Regions from separate parts of the Homo sapiens genome. Here all the other regions are linked to region 1. Evidence: promoter capture Hi-C in 16 types of primary human blood cells and fetal thymus (Javierre and others, 2016). All regions are on one chromosome and are shown on one strand. The core of a region is centred on a gene start or on the middle of the fragment in contact, and the rest is flanking DNA. Distances in the headings are between cores, read along the strand shown. Region 1 holds the start of DNAAF2 (dynein axonemal assembly factor 2). Region 2 overlaps NEMF (nuclear export mediator factor). Region 3 overlaps NEMF (nuclear export mediator factor). Region 4 overlaps NEMF (nuclear export mediator factor).

Evidence for each region. Contacts are between HindIII fragments. The CHiCAGO score rates a contact against its expected background, and 5 or more counts as called.
Region 2: a contact is called between a fragment that was not itself captured here and the fragment with the promoter of DNAAF2 in region 1, in 7 of 17 cell types (erythroblasts, megakaryocytes, total CD8 T cells and 4 more). The highest score is 11.4, in erythroblasts.
Region 3: a contact is called between a fragment that was not itself captured here and the fragment with the promoter of DNAAF2 in region 1, in 4 of 17 cell types (erythroblasts, megakaryocytes, total CD8 T cells and 1 more). The highest score is 8.6, in erythroblasts.
Region 4: a contact is called between a fragment that was not itself captured here and the fragment with the promoter of DNAAF2 in region 1, in 3 of 17 cell types (erythroblasts, naive CD4 T cells and megakaryocytes). The highest score is 6.1, in erythroblasts.

Annotation. Positions count from the first base shown.
Region 1 is chr14:49,633,558-49,638,254 of GRCh38, reverse strand. It overlaps DNAAF2 (dynein axonemal assembly factor 2), which reads left to right and starts at 3,011. Exons shown (of 3, transcript NM_018139.3): 1 at 3,011-4,697. The coding sequence starts at 3,106. RefSeq lists silencers at 3,390-3,439, 3,670-3,909, 4,180-4,449 and enhancers at 3,367-4,127, 3,940-4,179. The HindIII fragment of the contact is 6,803 bases long and covers 1-4,697 here.
Region 2 is chr14:49,822,848-49,827,805 of GRCh38, reverse strand. NEMF (nuclear export mediator factor) reads left to right here. Exons shown (of 33, transcript NM_004713.6): 16 at 1,851-1,939. Among named protein-coding and RNA genes, the nearest start is that of NEMF, 27 kb to the left of the region's middle. The HindIII fragment of the contact is 968 bases long and covers 2,032-2,999 here.
Region 3 is chr14:49,786,419-49,791,199 of GRCh38, reverse strand. NEMF (nuclear export mediator factor) reads left to right here. Exons shown (of 33, transcript NM_004713.6): 27 at 1,627-1,704; 28 at 1,857-2,054; 29 at 4,450-4,482. Among named protein-coding and RNA genes, the nearest start is that of KLHDC2, 21 kb to the right of the region's middle. The HindIII fragment of the contact is 580 bases long and covers 2,707-3,286 here.
Region 4 is chr14:49,806,988-49,812,091 of GRCh38, reverse strand. All of the region lies in intron 18 of NEMF (nuclear export mediator factor), which reads left to right. Among named protein-coding and RNA genes, the nearest start is that of KLHDC2, 41 kb to the right of the region's middle. The HindIII fragment of the contact is 3,899 bases long and covers 1,531-5,104 here.

The sequences.
Region 1 (4,697 bases), core at 1,762-4,261:
CTACTAAAAATAGAAAAATTAGCCGGGCGTGGTGGTGGGCATCTGTAATCCCAGCTACTCGGGAGGTTGAGGCAGGAGAACTGCTTGAACCTGGGAGGCGGAGGTTGCAATGAGCTGAGATTGTGCCACTGCACTGCAGCCTAGATAACAAAGGGAGACTCTGTCTCAAAAAAAAAAAAGTACATTTTTTAACTCTAAAAGTATAAGATACATAAAATCTACTGTCAGCGTACAGCACAATGAATTTCACAAATTGCACACCCAATGTAACCAAGATTAACAGACCCTCACCCAGAAGCTCTCCCAACATGGCCATCACTAGCTTGGCTTAACAGATTTATTTTGCCATGTTTTGTCTATTATATGACAGAGTCATATGTATTATTTTACATCTGGTTTCTTTCAAGCACCATTATGTTAATGATACTCATCTATACTGTTGAGTAGTGCATTGTGTGGGTGGATATTTACATTTATCCATTCTACTATGAATGAGAATTTGGGTTGCTTCCAGAATTTGTCAACTATGAAATAGTGCCGCTATGAATACACACATTGTAGTACATGTGTTTTGGTGGGGATATGTGTTTCTGTTGAATGTGTATCTGGGAGAATTTCATTGTCGTAAGCCTTATGTTAACAGTGTTCCAATATATACTCCCAGGATATGAAAGTGCAATTGCTGGCTGGGCATGGTGGCTTGTGCCTGTAATCCCAGCACTTTGGGAAGCCGAGGTGGGCGGATCACCTGAGCTCAGGAGTTGGAGACCAGCCTGACCAACATGGTGAAATCCCATCTCTACTAAAAAATACAAAAATTAGCTGGGCGCAGTGGTAGGTGCCTGCAATCCCAGCTACTTGGGAGGCTGAGGCAGGAGAATTGTTTGAACCCAGGAGGCGGAGGTTGCAGTGAGCCAAGATCGCGCCAAAGCACCCCAGTCTAGGCGACAGAGCAAGACTCTGTCTCAAAAAAAAAAGCAATGCAACTGCTTCACATCTTTGTTAATTACCTATATAATAAGTGCAATAAGCACACAATAAATATCTGTTGAAAGGACTAATTTGAACACAGATGGCATTTAAAACTATGGGCTTGGATAAGACATCTTGGAAGAAATGTGATTAGGTAAGAGGGCTGATGAACAAAGCCTTGGGCAACTCCCACATTTGCAGAACTGGCAGGAGCATAAAGGAGGAAAATGGGAGAGCTTGGAGTTCTGCAAAACATGAGAAAAATGTGTTTCGAAGGGGCAGTCAACTGCTTTGAATGCTTCCAAGAGACCATAAGATAAGGCAGTGGTTTGGGAAAAGAGGATTCAGGAGTTCTGATCTTGGTCATTTCAAGCCTGAGTAGCTTATGCATTAATCACTCAAATGGACACCTCAAACGTGCAGCTGGATATAGGAGTGTAAAATCTGAGTCTAAGACAAGTATTTGTGAGTGTAAATATATTTCTGAAGGAGAGTATAGATGGGTAAGAGATTGGGTCCCAGTTTTGGGGCATTTCCATGTAGAAGTTGAAAAGAAGTAGATACCTACAGAGCAAAACTATGAGAGTGATGAGACAGAAGAGAAATCTGGAAAGTGTCTTGTCACTGAGGTAATGCCAACATCAACTGTGTTAAATGTTGCTGAGAATAGAAAAATGATCACTGAATTGACCAATTACCAATGAATAAATAATTACTCCAGTAAATAAATATACTTCCATATGATCATTTTGAATGGTTGCACAAAACTCTGTTGCGTGGCTCTACCAAAACCTGCTCAATCAGTTCCATTGTTGAATTTGTAGATTCTTCTCAAACCTTTAGAATCATAAATGATGTCACCTTGAGAATGTTCTAAGAGTATTGTGTCAAATACTCTAAGGGCATTTGGGTCAAAAAAATATGCACATTAGAAAGGTTTTAGGCCGGGCGCGGTGGCTCATGCCTGTAATCCCAGCACTTTGGGAGGCTGAGGTGGGCAGATCACATGAGGTCAAGAGTGGGAGACCAGCCTGGCCAACATGGTGAAATCCCATCCCTACTAAAAATACAAAACTTAGCCGGACGTGGTGGTGAGTCACTGTAATCCCAGCTACCTGGGAGGCTGAGGCAGGGAGAATTGCCTGAACCCGGGAGGCGGAGGTTGCAGTGAGCCAAGACTGCACCACTGCACTCCAGCCTGGGTGACAGAGTGAGACAGCCTCAAAAAAAAAAAAAAAAAAAAAAAGGTTTTGGACCTGGTGTGGTGGCTCATGCCTGTAATCCTATAATCCCAGCACTCTGGGAGGCCGAGGCGGGCGGATCACGAAGTCAGGAGATCGAGACCATCCTGGCTAACACGGTGAAACCCTGTCTCTAGTAAAAATACAAAACATTAGCTGGGCGTAGTGGCAGGCGCCTGTAGTCCCAGCTGCTCGGGAGGCTGAGGCAGGAGAGTGGCGTGAACCTGGGAGGTGGAGCTTGCAGTGAGCCGAAACTGCGCCACTGCACTCCAGCCTGGGTGACAGAGCGAGACTCTGTCTCAAAAAAAGAAAAACAAAACAAAACAAAACAAAGTACGGTGGTGGGTTGGTTTGAAGAATCTAAGAGGGCTATTTCTGGCATTTCCACTATTCCACCATGATTTCCTTGAGAGACTTGCTCTGTCGCCCAGGCCGGAGTGCAGTGGCGCGATCTTGGCTCACCGCAAGAGCTCTGCCTCCTGGGTTTCACCCCATTCTACTGCCTCAGCCTTCCGAGTAGCTGGGACTACAGGCACCCGCCACCATGCCCGGCTAATTTTTTGTATTTTTAGTAGAGACGGGGTTTCACCGTGTTAGCCAGGATGGTCTCGATCTCCTGACCTCGTGATCCGCCCGCCTAGGCTTCCCAAAGTGCTGGGATTACAGGCCTGAGCCACCGCGCCCGGCCTATTCCACCATGATCTCTACCCCTCCTCCCGAATGTTAGTGGTGTAACTATGACAACAAGCACGCGCTGCTCAAGGCTCAATTTTCCAGCCGTTACCGACCTCCACCGCGTCACTGTACGCTGCCCAGAAACTCTGAGGCGGATCCCCCAACCCAGTGTCAGACTGATCGCCTTTGGCCCGAGGGCGAGGAGCCACAGGACAGTATGGCCAAAGCGGCGGCCTCCTCGTCGCTGGAGGACTTGGACCTGAGCGGAGAGGAGGTCCAGCGGCTCACCTCCGCCTTCCAGGACCCGGAGTTCCGGCGAATGTTCTCCCAGTACGCCGAGGAGCTCACCGACCCGGAGAACCGGCGGCGCTACGAGGCGGAGATCACCGCGCTAGAGCGTGAGCGCGGGGTGGAAGTGCGGTTCGTGCACCCGGAGCCCGGCCATGTGCTGCGCACCAGCCTGGACGGGGCGCGGCGCTGCTTTGTGAATGTCTGCAGCAACGCGTTGGTGGGCGCGCCCAGCAGCCGGCCCGGCTCCGGTGGCGACCGGGGCGCAGCTCCTGGCAGCCACTGGTCCCTGCCCTACAGCCTGGCGCCCGGCCGCGAGTACGCGGGGCGCAGCAGCAGCCGCTACATGGTCTACGACGTGGTCTTCCATCCAGACGCGCTTGCGCTGGCCCGGCGGCACGAGGGCTTCCGCCAGATGCTGGACGCCACGGCCCTGGAGGCCGTCGAGAAGCAGTTCGGCGTGAAGCTGGACCGCAGGAATGCCAAGACCCTGAAGGCCAAGTATAAGGGGACCCCAGAGGCTGCGGTGCTGCGCACGCCCCTGCCCGGGGTCATCCCCGCAAGGCCTGACGGGGAGCCGAAGGGTCCTCTCCCGGACTTCCCCTACCCTTACCAGTACCCGGCAGCCCCCGGGCCCCGGGCGCCCTCCCCTCCGGAAGCGGCCTTGCAGCCCGCCCCCACCGAGCCTCGCTACAGCGTGGTGCAGCGCCACCACGTGGACCTCCAGGATTACCGCTGCTCCAGGGACTCAGCCCCGAGCCCCGTGCCCCATGAGCTGGTGATCACCATCGAACTGCCGCTGTTGCGCTCGGCCGAGCAGGCGGCGCTGGAGGTAACGAGAAAGCTGCTGTGCCTCGACTCGAGGAAACCTGACTACCGGCTGCGGCTCTCGCTCCCGTACCCAGTGGACGATGGCCGCGGCAAGGCACAATTCAACAAGGCCCGGCGGCAGCTGGTGGTTACGCTGCCAGTGGTGCTGCCGGCCGCGCGCCGGGAGCCCGCTGTCGCCGTCGCCGCCGCCGCGCCGGAAGAGTCCGCGGACCGGTCCGGAACTGACGGCCAGGCCTGCGCTTCCGCTCGCGAGGGGGAGGCGGGACCCGCGAGGAGTCGCGCGGAGGACGGAGGCCACGATACCTGCGTGGCTGGGGCTGCGGGCTCCGGGGTCACCACCCTGGGCGACCCGGAGGTGGCGCCTCCGCCGGCCGCAGCTGGAGAGGAGCGTGTCCCCAAGCCGGGGGAGCAGGACTTGAGCAGGCACGCGGGGTCACCGCCGGGCAGCGTGGAGGAGCCATCTCCTGGAGGAGAAAACTCACCTGGTGGCGGAGGCTCCCCTTGTTTGTCCTCCCGGAGCCTGGCGTGGGGTTCTTCTGCGGGAAGAGAGAGTGCGCGCGGAGATAGCAGTGTGGAAACACGCGAGGAGTCGGAGGGCACGGGCGGCCAGCGCTCAGCCTGCGCCATGGGTGGTCCCGGGACCAAGAGCGGGGAGCCTTTGTGTCCTCCGTTACTGTGTAATCAGGACAA
Region 2 (4,958 bases), core at 1,266-3,765, 190 kb before region 1:
GTTTCACTCTTATTGCTCAGGCTGGAGTGCAATGGCTTGATCTCAGCTCACTGCAACTTCTGCCTCCCAGGTTCAAGCGATTCTCCCACCTCAGCCTCCTAAGTAGCTGGGATTACAGGCGCCCGCCACCACACCCAGCTAATTTTTGTAGTTTTAGTAGAGACAGGGTTTCACCATGTTGGTCAGCTTGGTCTCAAACTGCTGACCTCAGGTGATCCGCCCGCTTCAGGCCTTGACCTTCGGCCTCCCAAAGTGCTGGGATTACAGGTGTGAGCCACCATGCCTAGCCCCGTTGTGATCCTTTTGAATCAAAAGTGAAGACTGGGTGTGGTGGTTGACGCCTGTAATTCCAGCACTTTGGAAGGCCGAGGCCGGTGGATCGCTTGAAGCCAGGAGTTTGAGACCAGCCTGGCCAACATGGTGAAACCCCATATCTACTGAAAATACAAAAATTAGCCTGAGGTGATGGCGGGTACCTGTAATCCCAGCTACTTGGGCGGCTGAGGTGGGAGAATCTAATGAACCCGGGAGGTGGAGGTTGCAGTGAGCTGAGATCATGCCATTGCACTCTAGCCTGGGAGACAGAGCGAGACTCCGTCTCAAAAAATATATTAAAATAAATAAATCAAAAGTGAAGTCCTTTTTCTCTTCCAGTTGCTTCCCATCTTAATACAATTCAGAGCCCTTCTCCTATCCTGCAAGAAGGACGGGAGATCTCCTCCCCTCTGACCTCAACACCTGCATTCCTCCTCTCATACACTCTTTCTGGCTACACTGGGATCTTAGCTGTTCATAAAATAATGACACGTGCTCCCCTCTCAGGGTCTTTGCCCTTGCTGTTCTCTCTACCTGGAATTTTCAGTTTGACCCCTCTCTTCATTTACATATCCACTTAAATGAGATTTAATCAGAGAATCCTTCCTTGACCGCTCATTACTAACGATAGTACCACCCTGAATCTCTCTTTATTTTGCCTTATTTTCTTCTTGAAAAACACTCCCCCCAGCCCAACATATGTTTATTTGAATATTTTTTCTGGATTCCCTCTAGAATATAGATTGCATGAAAGTAGAATCTTTGTGTTGTTCATTGCTGCATCCCAATCCCTGGAATATTGCCTGGCACAGAGTAGGCACTTTAATAGCTGTTAAATGAGTGGCCTTCATGACTTGGCCCTCTGTCTATTGCTTCAACCTCATTTCTTGACATTATGCCCTTGATTACTACTTGCTGTACTTGCTGGTCTTTTTTTTTTTTTTTTTTTTGCTTGTAATGCCCTTTTTCCTATTCTTTGCCTGATAACCCCGTTAGTCGTTGAGGATTCAGCTTAAATGTCATTTCCTCAGAGATACCTTCTTTGACCATAACCCAGTGTAAATCGGGTTTCCTTGTTATATTCCTGTAGCATCTTTAGAAGCACTCACCATTATATATTTATTTAAAGGATTATATGATTAATAGTTGTCTCTTCTAGACCTAGTGGGGTGGGAGTGGGGGCTTTGTCCATCTTGTTCACTCTTATATCTCTAATGGCATCTAGCCTAGAACCAAGCATATGATAGGTACTCAGTATCTAGAAAATGACAAGGTATTTATTACTTTGTAGGTCTTGGGCAAATATTTTCATGTAGTAATTCTTTAGTTTAGATTATTTTAATACTTCAGGCAAAAATATTTTCATTTCTTCATTACTTTCAAGTATGCGTATTTGTGTGTGTGTGTGTTTGTGTGTGTGTGTGTAGATTGTGCCATTTTGTGACATTTAAAAAAATTCTTGCCCCATTATTTACTTTGGTGTTATTTAAATACATTCTTAACAAATTGTTTTTAAAACTCTTTTCTATAAATAGGCATTCAAGTCAGCAGAAAAGAAAACAAAGCAAACATTAAAAGAAGTTCAGACTGTTACCTCTATTCAAAAAGCAAGAAAAGTATATTGGTAAGTGTTCTGTCTCTTTCAAATACAGTTTTTGTTTTTATTAAAATTATCCATGCACATTGTTTAGAAAAGTCAAACAGTTCTACAAAGCTTGTTACAAAACCAGTAGCTCTGCAATTTTTTGTTGGTTTGTTTGAGACAGGTTCTCTGTCACCCAGGGTGGAATACAGTGGCATGAACATGGCTCACTGTAGCATTGACCTCCTGGGCTCTGACAGTTCTCCCACCTCAGCCTCCCAAGTAGCTGAGACTACAGGCACATGCCACTGTGCCCAGCTAATTTTTTAATTTTTTGTAGAGGCAGGGTCTCACTTTGTTGCCCAGGCTGGTCTCAAACTTCTAGGCTCAAGAGATCCTCCTGCCTCAGCCTCAGTGCTGGATTACAGGCATACGCTTCTGCACTCAGCTAGTTCTCCAGTTCCTCACCTTTACTCCTATTGCCTGCTCTCCGAAGGAAACCACTTTTAGCTCTTTTAGTTGATTCTTTTGATATTTGCCTTTATTTATCTTAGTAATATGTTTATATTGCTACTTCTTAATTTTTCTGTTTTATATTCTTACTAACTTCCCACTGGGAAAGATGAGGATTTCCCTCTTTCCACTTGTGTTCCATTACATACACACACAGTTACAGCATAATTTTGTCAAGATTAATAGCATTGGCATCATTATAAATATTTAAATTGTAGTCATATAATTTATATGTCATAGCTGACCCACATAGAATTCTGTTTTCTTTTTCCTTCCTTGCTCAGTTTTAAAAATCTTCCCTGGAGTTATTAATTGTCATTTCATTTGCTTTTTATTTTTGTTCTTATCACTAATTTATCTAAATAATATCTTCCAAGTGTGTTCAGACACATTGGAATTCAATCAGTATCATCTTGCAGAGGTCAGAAGTCTCTCCTGGAGCTTTTTGACTTACTTAATTTTATATTGGTTCTCTCTAAGCATCGTACACTTTTCTTTTTATTGTTATCTTTATCCTTCTCTGTTTTGGAAACTCTTTTCTGGATCTCATACTTCTTTCTTGGTTGAAAGAGTGTGTGTTCCAGAAGCTTCACAAGAAAGGGTGTATAGAAAGCAGAGTTTTTGAGGTCTCCAATGTATAAAACATTTTACTCTTATAGTTTGAGTGGGCTGGGCATGGTGGCCCATTCCTGTAATCTCAGCACTCTGGGAGGGTGAGGTGGGTGGACCTCTTGACCTCTGGAGTTCGAGACTAGCCTGTGCAACATGCCAAACCCCGTCTCTTAAAAAAAAAAATTGAGTATAGAATTCTATGAAAATATATTTTCCTCAGACTTTTTTTTTTTTTTTTTGAGACGGAATTTCACTTTTATTGCCCAGGCTGGAGTGCAGTGGCGCAGTCTTTGGCTCACTGTAACCTCTGCCTTCCAGTTTGAAGCGATTCTCATGCCTCAGCCTCTGGAGTAGCTGGGATTACAGGCACCCACCACCACGCCTGGCTAATTTTTGTATTTTTAGTAGAGATGGGGTTTCACCTTACTTGCCACCCTGGTCTCAAACTCCTGACCTCGTGTTCCACCCGCCTCAGCCTCCCAAAGTGTTGGGATTACAGGCGTGAGCCACCACGCCCCGCCTCCTCAGACTTTTAAAGGTATTGCTTCATTATAGTAACTTGAGAAATCTGGTATTATTTTGATAGTTGATATTTTATTTATTTTATTTTTTTTGAGACAGAGTCTCACTTTGTTGCCCAGGCTGGAGTGCAGTGGCATGATCTTGGCTCACTGCAACCTCCGCTTCCTGGGTTCAAGTGATTCTCCTGTCTCAGCCTCCCGAGTAGCTGGGATTACAGGTGCACGCCACCATGCCCAACTAATTTTTGTGTGTTTAGTAGAGAAGGGTTTCTGCCATGTTGCCCATGCTGGTCTCTTAACTCTTGGCCTCAAGTGATCTGCCCGCCTCAGCCTCCCAAAATGCTGGGATTACAGGCTTGAGCCATCACACCTGGCTGATAGTTGATATTTTACATGAAACTTGTTTTTGCCTCTCTACAAGCTTGTAGATATTTCTCCCCTCCCAATTTTTTCTCCAAATTTTTCAAAATTTTACAATTGGGGTTGGTGGTGATGTTTTAATCCATTATGTTGGATACTTTGTGGGCTGTTTTAATTCAGAAACTTTCAGTTCTGAGACATTTTCTGGAAATAGTTCTTGAAAAACTGCCTGACCTCTGCTTTCTTTTTTCTTTTCCTTCTGGAAATCTTGTTTTTAAGATATGGAACCCCCTAGACCAGTCCTCCAATTTTGTTGTATTTTCTATTTTCAAGTCTATCGTTTTGCTCTACATCCTGGGAGTTTCCTCAGCTTTATCTTCCACCAAATCTTTCCACTGAATATTTTATTACTTCCTATCATGTTTTTAATTTTAAGAACTCTCTTTTCAACATAATGTTCCTGGCAAAAAAAGAGAGGACTTTTTTTTTTTGGTTCTTGGAATATACCCTTTTTAAAAAAATAAATAAGTTTCTGCTTTAGTTTCTTTTAGCTCTCTGAGAATAGTTTTGATGTATTAAATTTTTTTAGTATTCTTTTTTGGCAAGTCTCTGTCTTCTCCAAGTTGTTTCTTTTTAAATTTTTTTAAATTATATATATTTAGGCTGGGCACAGTGGTGCTCACCCATGTAATCCTAGCACTTTGGGAGACCAAGACAGGTGGATCACTGGGGGTTAGGAGTTTGAGACCAACCTGGCCAACATGGTGAAAACCCATCTCTACTAAAAATACAAAAAAAATTAGCTGAGTGTGGTGGCAGGTGCCTGTAATCCCAGCTACTAGGGAGGCTGAGACACAAGAATCACTTGAACTTGGGAGGCAGAGGTTTCAGTAAGCCGAGATCGTGCCACTGCACTCCAGCCTGGGTGACAGAGCAAGACTCTTTCTCCAAAAAAAAAAAAAAAAAAATCTCTAAGGGGACTCTGATAATGCTAGGCCTCTCAAGAACAAAAAGTTAAGGTCATGCAGTCCCCCTACCACACCACACATACTGAT
Region 3 (4,781 bases), core at 1,747-4,246, 150 kb before region 1:
CCACACCCAGCTAATTTTTGTATTTTTAGTACAGACGGGGTTTCACTTATGTTGGCCAGGATGGTCTCGATCTCCTGACCTTGTGATCCACCCGCCTCGGCCACCCAAAGTGCTGGGATTACAGGCGTGAGCCACTGCGCCCAGCCAGAAGGCTCATGCTTGCCACTTGCTAAGAATATCCCCACTTGACATTTTTTTTGTTTTTTGAGACAGAGTTTTACTCTTGTTGCCCAGGTTGGAGTGCAATAGCATGATCTCGGCTCACCGCAACCTCTGTCTCCCAGGTTCAAGCGATTCTCCTACCTCAGACTCCCAAGTAGCTGGGATTACAGGCATGCACCACCACGCCTGGCTAATTTTGTTTGTATTTTTGGTAGAGATGGTGTTTCACCATGTTGGTCAGGCTGGTCTTGAACTCCTGACCTCAGGTGATCCACCTACCCAGACCTCCCAAAGTGTTGGGATTACAGGTGTGAGCCACCGTGCCAGACCCTCACATGACTTTTGGATCCCTAAGTATGCATTTCTGTTCATATACATATGAGTGGAATTTTCTGGGTTGTGGCATACATGTTGTTTGCCTTTATTAGATCCTGTCAATCAGTTTTCCAGAGCACCTGTATCAATTTCCCACCAGGCAGTGTATGAGAGTTCCAGTTGTCCCCCATCCGTAGTAACACTTGGTATTGTTTTCTTTTTTCAGTCATTTAAGTGTGTATATGCTGATAGCTCATTTGGCTTTTATTTCATGTTCCTGATGACTAATGATATTGAGCGCTTTCTCATGTTTTTTGGACCTTTGTGTATCCTCTTTCGAAGTGCCTATTTTAAAAATTGGTTTGTCCTGTCTTTCTAGTTGATGTATAAGGGTTCTCTGCAATCCTGAATACAAGTCCTTTCTCGGATATATGTATTGCAAGCGTTTTTCACACTTTGGGGATTGCTGTTTTTCACTTTTTAATAGTCTTTTTTGATGAGTAGCATTTTTAAATTCTAATTGAGTCTGATGTATCAGTCTTTTACGGTGTTTGTGTCCTGTTTAGGGACACAAATTTACAATTTTCAAAATGTGTTATTTCAGTCCCAGTTAACACAGTTAATCAAGACAAAAATCTCTAGGGTGGGGCCTAGATGTTTATAGTTTAAAACCCCTAGAGTGATTTGGGGATGTAATCAGGGTAAAGAATCATTGGTTTATTTAATAAAATACAGAGTCTTGAAAGCCTCTAGAATAAGTGCCTAGCCTAGCTTTGCTGCTTTATTTCCTGTTCTTCCTCCATGTGTACCCTGACCCAAACCAAATGTGATGACTTGCTATTACTGTTCTCTTCCTTTTTAGACTTGCTTTTCCAATACTGTTTTACTTTATTTCTTCCTCACAGTTCTTTATGTTTTGTTAATGTATTCTTACTTCTCTGTGTATCTTCTCTCCACCCTATGGTAAATTCCTTGAAGATGAGGACTTCAGTTATCCAACTTTGTAGCCTTCATATTGTTTATTATAATGGTGCCTTATTCAGTAAGCATTTTTGACAGAGAATATAAAGTAACACCATTTCTTTGCAAGTATTTGTTGACATTTTTTTGCTGCTGAATATTTCCAACCAAAATCTTCTGATTTTGTAGAGTAAAATGAAAAAAATGAAAGAAAAATACAAAGACCAGGATGAAGAAGACCGTGAACTTATCATGAAGTTGCTGGGGGTAAATAACATCTAAAAACATTTTTTCTTTTGCTTTTCAAATGGGCATCTAGCCCACTGCCTAGCGTATGACAGGCATTCAATACATTCTTGTTAAAATATTCACAGTATTGAAAATACAACACTGACTGATGTTTCCTCTATGAATTAAAGTCTGCAGGTTCAAACAAAGAAGAAAAAGGGAAGAAGGGGAAGAAAGGAAAAACAAAGGACGAACCTGTGAAGAAACAGCCCCAGAAACCTAGAGGTGGACAGAGGGTCTCTGACAACATTAAGAAAGAAACTCCGTTCCTTGAGGTTATAACTCATGAGTTACAAGACTTTGCTGTAGATGATCCACATGATGACAAGGTATGGCTACTTTGTGGGCTTCTGCTTCTTAATTAGGGTGATTACCCATCCTGGAGTTCCCAGGACATGGGACTTTCAGTGCTAAAACCAAGACAAGTGAGTAACCCTATTCTTAATGGAATGTCATCCAGAAATACAACCTGAAAGACTAAAATTGCAGTATCTTATCTAAGCATGATAATGGTAGTACTGATAGCTGATAACAATTTTGTTACAAGCCTTTAGGAAGTAATCAGTTTTAAGGAGAGGCTTTGATTCTGATGGGAACTGAATTAAATTAAGACAGAGAGGCCTGGCACGGTGGCTCACGCCTGTAATCCCAGCACTTTGAGAGGCCAAGGCAGGCAGATCACAAGGTCAGGAGATTGAGACCATGCTGGCTAACGTGGTGAAACCCTGTCTCTACTAAAAAAATACAAAAAAATTAGCCGGGTGTGGTGGTGAGCGCCTGTAGTCTCAGCTACTTGGGAGGCTGAGGCAGAATAGCGTGAACCTGGGAGGCAGAGCTTGCAGTGAGCCGAGATTGTGCCACTGCACTCCAGCCTGGGCGACAGAGCGAGACTCCATCTCAAAAAAAAAAAAAAAAAGAGAGAGAGAAAATTGGGATTGTCTTGAAGATGTGTAGAAAATAAATTTTCACTTTCTCTAAGCTTTTCTATAGGAATCTATGCCATATGGTCGTACATAATGTTGAAAATGAGTACACCATTTAAGAGCCAAGTACTCTGGTTACAAAACCAGTGAGTTCGTATTTTTCCAGCTAAGATGATTGCCTAATTGTTTTATTAACAGTACAGCAAGCCCAGCCTTCTGTATATCTTCTTACATGAATATGTACCTCTTCTTGAATTTTTTTTTTTTTTTTTTTTGAGGCAGTCTTGCTCTGTTGCCCAGGCTGGAGTGCAGTGGCACAATCTCAGCTCACTGCAACCTCCACCTCCCGGATTCAAGCAATTATCCGGCCTCAGCCTTCTGAGTAGCTGGGATTACAAGCATGCACCATCACGCCTGGCTTATTTTTGTATTTTTAGTGGTGATGGGGTTTCACCATGTTGGCCAGGCTGGTCTTGAACTCCTGATCTCAGGTGATCCGCCTGCCTTGGCCTCCCAAAGTGTTGGGATTACAGGCGTAAGACACATGCCCAGCCTGTTTATTTTTTAATAACGGCTTAAAATAGAGGCCAGATAAAAAATTTTTACCTTTGTCACCAGCATTTTTTTTATGTAAAGCTTGAGTTATAATTGTGTGCTCAGTTTAGTGCAGGTAATGCTTACAGGGATTCTGTATTACTATTTTCTTTTTTTTCCTGCTGAACAGTTGTTGTTTAGTAATACTAAAACTCGTTTTGGCTTTTAAAATTTGTACAATATCCTTATGTTCTGTAAATCCTAGACTCACAAATACTCACTAGAGGTGTTAATTATTAATGTTCTTTCATGAGTAGGTGCTATGGTCTAAATGTTAATATCCCCCCACAATTCATATATGGGAACCTAAATACCCAGTGTGATGGTATTAAGAGGTTGGGCCTTTAGGAAGTGAAGTCACGAGGGCTCTTCTGTCATGAATGAGATGAGTGCCCTTTTGCCACGTGAGGACACTGCAATAAGGTGCCATCTTTTTTTAAGATGAGGTCTCCCTGTGTTGCCCAGGCTGGTGTCGAACTCCTGGGCTCAAGGGATCCCCCGACCTTGGCCTCCCAAAGTGCTGGGATTACAGGTATGAGCCACCACACCCAGCCTAAGGTACCATCTTTGAGGCAAGCCCTTATCAGACATTGAATCTGCTGGTGCCTTGATGCTGGACTTCCCAGCCTTCAGAACTGTAAGAAGTAAAATTTCTGTTGTTTCTAAATTATACAGGCTAAGGTATTTTGTTACAGCAGCCTGAACAGACTGAGACAGTCAGTTATCTCCAGATAGATTTTTCTTAAGCAAACAAAATTAAGCATATTTTATGGGATATGGGAAAAATTTATCCAAAACTGTTGAACAGATATTTAAAAATAAAAGTTCTGTTGACCAAAATTCTCCATTTGCTTTTCTCCTGGCAAACTTATCAACCTTAGTTGTCATTTTAAATTGTACTTGTAACTTTTGCTGCTTTAACATATACTTTATATGAAAGTTTCAGTTCCCACCTCCTCTACTTCAGAGAACTACCCTTCTTCTCTTGAATGACATTACTTTCTTAAGTAATAAAACAGACACACACAAACACATATACGAATCCACTTCAGAGTCTTAGGAAGAATATAACCTTGAGGCCCCCTATCCTGTGGGTCAGAAATGACAGTCTGGTTGTATCACTGTTTCTTTCTCCTTATGGTTTAATGATGTGGAATTTTCATTTTACATTATAGCTGACATTTTTATTTTTATATGTTCGGAACAGGAAGAGCAAGATCTGGATCAACAGGGAAATGAGGTATGATTTTATGTTGGGGTTCCTACTACAACACTGTGATTACAATTCAGTTCCCAGAATGTTTGAAACACAACTTATTAAAACTTAGAAACCTAAGACAAGACTGCAGGCTACGAAGTCAAACTTTCGGGGTCTTAATCCCAACTCTGCTATATGTAACTGTACAAACTTGGAAACATTCTTTGTGCCTCAGTTTCCTCATCTGAAGAATGGGGATAATGTCCCTACCCAGGAGAGGGTTGTTTTGATAACTAATGTATGTAAAGGGCATTTAGAAAAGTTTATGGCACATAGCAAAC
Region 4 (5,104 bases), core at 2,231-4,730, 170 kb before region 1:
GATTGGATTAATAATAAAGAAAAACATTAAAAAAATACTCATCAAAGAAAACCCTAGGCCAGATGGCTTCACTGGTGAATTATAAAGAAGGTTGAATGCCAGTTCTTCACAAACTCTTCCAAAAAATAGGATCAGTGGGAACACTTCCTAACCCATTCTACAAGGCCAGTATTACAAAACCAAAGATAACACAAGAAAACTACAGACCAATACCGGTTATAAATATAGACAAAAATCTTTGACAAAATATTAGCAAACTGAATCTAGCAGCATATTAAAATGACTATATACGATGACAAAGCGTAATTTATCTCAGGAATGAAAGCTTGGTTCAGTATATGGAAATTAATGTAATATAATCTACTAATAAAGGACAAAAAACACACATGGATTATCTCAACTTATGAAGAAAAACCATTTGACAAAATTCAACATTTGTTTGTGATAAAAACACTCAGCAAACTAGGAATAGAAGGGATATTCCTCAACTTGGTAAACAAGCATTTATGAAAAACCGACAGCTAACAATCATACTTAATGCTGAAAGATTGGGTACCTTCCTCCTCCCATCAGTAATAAGACAAATATGTCTGTTCTTGCCATTTCTATTTAACATTATACTGGTGGTTCTATATAGGTCATTAGGCAATAAAAAGAAAAAAAAATCCAAATTAGGCAAAAGTAAAGCTACCTATGTTTACAGTTGATATGGTCACACACATTTAAAAAACCTAAAGAATCTACCAGTAATTATCAGAGCTAATAAACAAGTTCAGCAATGTCCAGGATATGAGATCAGTAAACAAAAATCAGTTGTATTTCTGTACACTACCAGTGAACAATCTGAAAAGGAAATTAATAAAACAATTCAATTTATAATTAGCATTAAAAAGAATAAAATACTTAGGAATCAATTTACCAAAAGACTTACAACGCTTATAGATAACAAACTATAAAATTATTTTAAGGAATTAAAGACCTAAATTGGACATCCCATGTATATGTATTGGAAGTCTTAATATTGTTCTGATAGCAGTACTCCCCAGTAATCTAGGAATTCACTGTAATCCCTCTCAAAATTGCAGCTGCTTTTTTTGTTTTGTTTTGAAACAGGGTCTCCTGTCACCCAGGCTGTAATAAAGTGGTGCGATTGGCTCACTGCAGCCTTGAACTTTCAGGCTGAAGCGATCCTCCCATCTCAACCTCCTGAGTAGTTGGGACCATAGACATTTGCCACTGTGCCCAACTTATTTTTGTGTTTTTTGTAGAGATGAGGTTTTGCCATGTTGTCCAGACTAGTGTCGAGCTCCTGAGCTCGAGCAGTCCATCCACTTTGACCTCCTAAAGTACTGGGATTACAGGCATGAGCCACTGCCCCTGGCCCTGCATTTTATTTTATTTTATTTTTTCAGAGATGGAGAAGCTGATTCTAAAATTCATGTGGTAATGCAAGGAGACTCAGATTAGCGAAAGCAGTATTGAAAATGAAGAGCAAATTTTGAAGGACTCATGTTTCCTGATTTTAAAGCTTTCTACAGAGTAACAGTAATCAGGACACTGGTACTGGCATGAGGATGGACAAATAGATCAAGGGATAGAATCGAGATTCCAGAAATAAACCTGTAGTTTATGGTCAGTTAATTTTCAGCAGGGGTGCCAAGACCAATGGGGATAGAATTTCCTCTTTCTTTTTTTCTTTTTTTAATTTTTTGTTTTTGGTTTTTTGAGATGGAGTCTTGCACTGTCACCCAGGCTGGAGTGCAGTGGTGTGATCTCGGCTCATGCAAGCTCTGCCTCCTGGGTTCACACCATTCTCCTGCCTCAGCCTCCCGAGTAGCTGGGACTACAGGCGCCCTCCACCACGCCCGGCTAATTTTTTGTATTTTTAGTAGAGACGAGTTTTCACCGTGTTAGCCAGGATGGTCTTGATCTCTTGACCTTGTGATCCGCCCGCCTCAGCCTCCCAAAGTGCTGGGATTACAGGCACGAGCCACCGCACCCGGCCTCTTTTTTTAAATAGACATTTTTTTCGACCAGTTTTAGGTTCACAACAAAATTGAGCAGAATGTATAGTGATTTCCCTCATACCCCCTGCTGCATGCATGCGTAGCCTCCCCTATTATCGATATCCCCCACCAGAACGGTACATTTGTTACAACTAATGAACCTACATTGACACATCATTATGGCCCAGAGTCCATAGTTTGCATTAGAGTTCACTCTCTTTTTTTGAGACAGAGTCTCGCTCTGTTGCCCAGCCTGGAGTGCAGTTGCGTAATCTCAGCTTACTGCAACGTCTGCCTCCCAGGTTCAAGCGATTCTCCTGCCTCAGCCTCCAGAGTAGCTGGAATTAACAGGCACGTGCCACCACACCCAGCTAGTTTTTGTATTTTTAGAAGAAACAGGGTTTTACTATGTTGGCCAGGCTGGTCTCGAACTCCTGACAAGTGTTCTGCCCACCTCAGCCTCCCAAAGTGCTGGGATTACAGGCATGAGTCACCAAGCCCAGCCAGGGTTCACTCTTGATGTATATAGTCTTTGAGTTTGGACAAATGTGTAAAACATGTATCTGCCATTGTATTATCATACAGATTTAGTTTGGTTGTGCTAAAAAAGTCCTCTGTGCCCTGCCTGTTCATCCCTCCCTTCCCCCAACCCCCGACAACCACTGATCTTTAAAGGCTGGCTTCTTCACTTAGTAGTATGCTTTTACCTTTCCTCCATGTCTCTTCATGGCTTGATAGCTCATTTCTTTTTATCCCTGAATAATATTCAGTTGTCTGGATGAACCACAGTTTATCCATTAATCTACTGAATTTGGTTGCCCCCATGTTTTGGCAATATGAATAAAGCTACTATAAACATCTGTGCAGGTTTTTGTACAGATATAAGTTTTCAGTTCATTTTGGTAAATACCAAACATCAATATTGTTGAATCACATGGTAAGAGTATTTTTAGTTTTGTAAGAAACCACCAGACTGTCTATTCTAAAGTGGCTGTACCCTTTTACATCACCACCAGCAATGGGAGTTCCTGTTGTTCCACTGCCACCAGAATTTAGTGTTGTCAGTGTTTTGGATTTTGGCCATTATCATTGATGCATAGTGTATTTCAATGTTGTTGTAATTTGCATTTCCTTGGTGACATATGATGCAGAGCATCTTTTCATATGCTTATTAGATATTCATATGTATATCTTCGATGCAGTATCTGTTAAAAGTCTTTGGCCCATTTGTTAATTGGGCTGTTTGTGTTTTTACTGTTGAGTTCTAAGAGTTTTTTTATATTTTAGATAACAATCTTTTATCTGCTATGTCTTTTGCAAGTATTTTCTGCCAGTCAGTGGCTTAACTTTTTAACGGTAGTATGGCACTACTAGATATCCACATGCAAAAGATTGAGGTTAGACCTCTTAATCACACCATTTATAAAAATTAACTTAAAATGCATCCAAGACCTAAACTTAAAAGCCAGAAGTATAAAGCTGCTAGAAGAAAACAAGGCATAAATTTTTATGATCTTGTATCATGCAGTAATTTCTTAGATATGATACCAAAATCATAAGTAATCAAACAAAAAACAGGTAAGTTAGACATAAAATTAAAAACCTTAATTCAGCCCGGCACGGTGGCTCATGCCTGTAATCCCAACACTTTGGGAGGCCGAGGCAGGTGGATCACCTGAGGTCAAGAGTTCGAGACCAGCCTGGCCAACATGGTGAAACCCTGTATCAACTAAAAAATATGAAAAATTAGCCTGGTATGATGGCGGGTGCCTGTAATCCAAGCTACTTGGGAGGCTGAGTCAGGAGAATCGCTTGGACCCTGGAGGCGAAGGTTGCAGTGAGCTGAGATGGCATCATTGCACTCCAGCCTGGGCAATGAGCGAAATTCTGTCTCAAAAAATAAAATAAATAAATAAAACCTTAATCCAAGGAACATTATCAAGAAAGTAAAAAGACAACCCACAGAATAAGAGAAAATATTTGCAAATCATATATCTGATGAGTCTAGTGTCCAAAGAATTCCTAAGTTTCAACAATAGAAAGGGAAGTAACCCAGCTGAAAAATGAGCAAGAGATTTGAATGGATATTTCTGCAAAGATACGTGAATGGCCAACAATCACATGAAACGATTCTCAGTATCATCAGTTATTAGGAAAATTTAAATCAAAATCACAAGATACCAGTCAGGCGCTGTGGCTCATGCATGTAATCCCAGCACTTTGGGAGGCAGAGGCAGGTAAATCACTTGAGGTCAGGAGTTTGAGACCAGCCTGGCCAGTATAGTGAAACCCCATCCCTAGTAAAAAAATATATATATATAAAAATTAGCCGGGCGTAGTGGTGCATGCCTGTAATCCCAGCTACTCAGGAGGCTGAGGCAGGAGAATCACTTCCCAGGTGGTGGAGGTTGCAGTGAGCCGAGATCACGCCACTGCACTCCAGCCGGGGTGAAAAGAGAGAGACTCCGTCTCAAAAAAAAAAAAAAAAAAAAATCACAAGATACCACTTTATACCCACTAACATGTGCTGGTGATGATGCTGGAGAAAACAATAACACGTGTTGGTGATGATGGTGGAGAACATAGAATACTGCTGGTAGGAATGGACAATGATACAGCTGCTGTGGGAAGTGGTTTGGCAGTTCCAAAAAATGTTAAACATAATTGACCCAGCAATTCCTCTCTTAGGTATATACCCAAGATGAGCAAAGGTATGTGTCTACACAAAACTTGTTTGCAGATATTGATAGCAGCATTATTTATAATAGCCAAGAAATGGAAACAATCCATATGTCATTCAATTAATGAATAAACAAAATGTGATATATCCATATAATGGAATATTATTCAGACTTGCAAAGAACAGAAGTACTTATATGTGCTTTTAACATGGATGAATCTTGAAAAACATTAAGCTAAGTGAAAGAAGCCAAACCTAAAATGCTGTGTATGATTACATTTGTATGAAATGTCCAAAATAGGCAAAACCATAGAGACAGAAAATAGATTAGTAATTGCCAGGGGCTGGGTACAGAGGAGAAAATGGGGAGTGGCTGCTAATGAATATAGGGTTTCTTTTCTGGGATGATGAAAATATT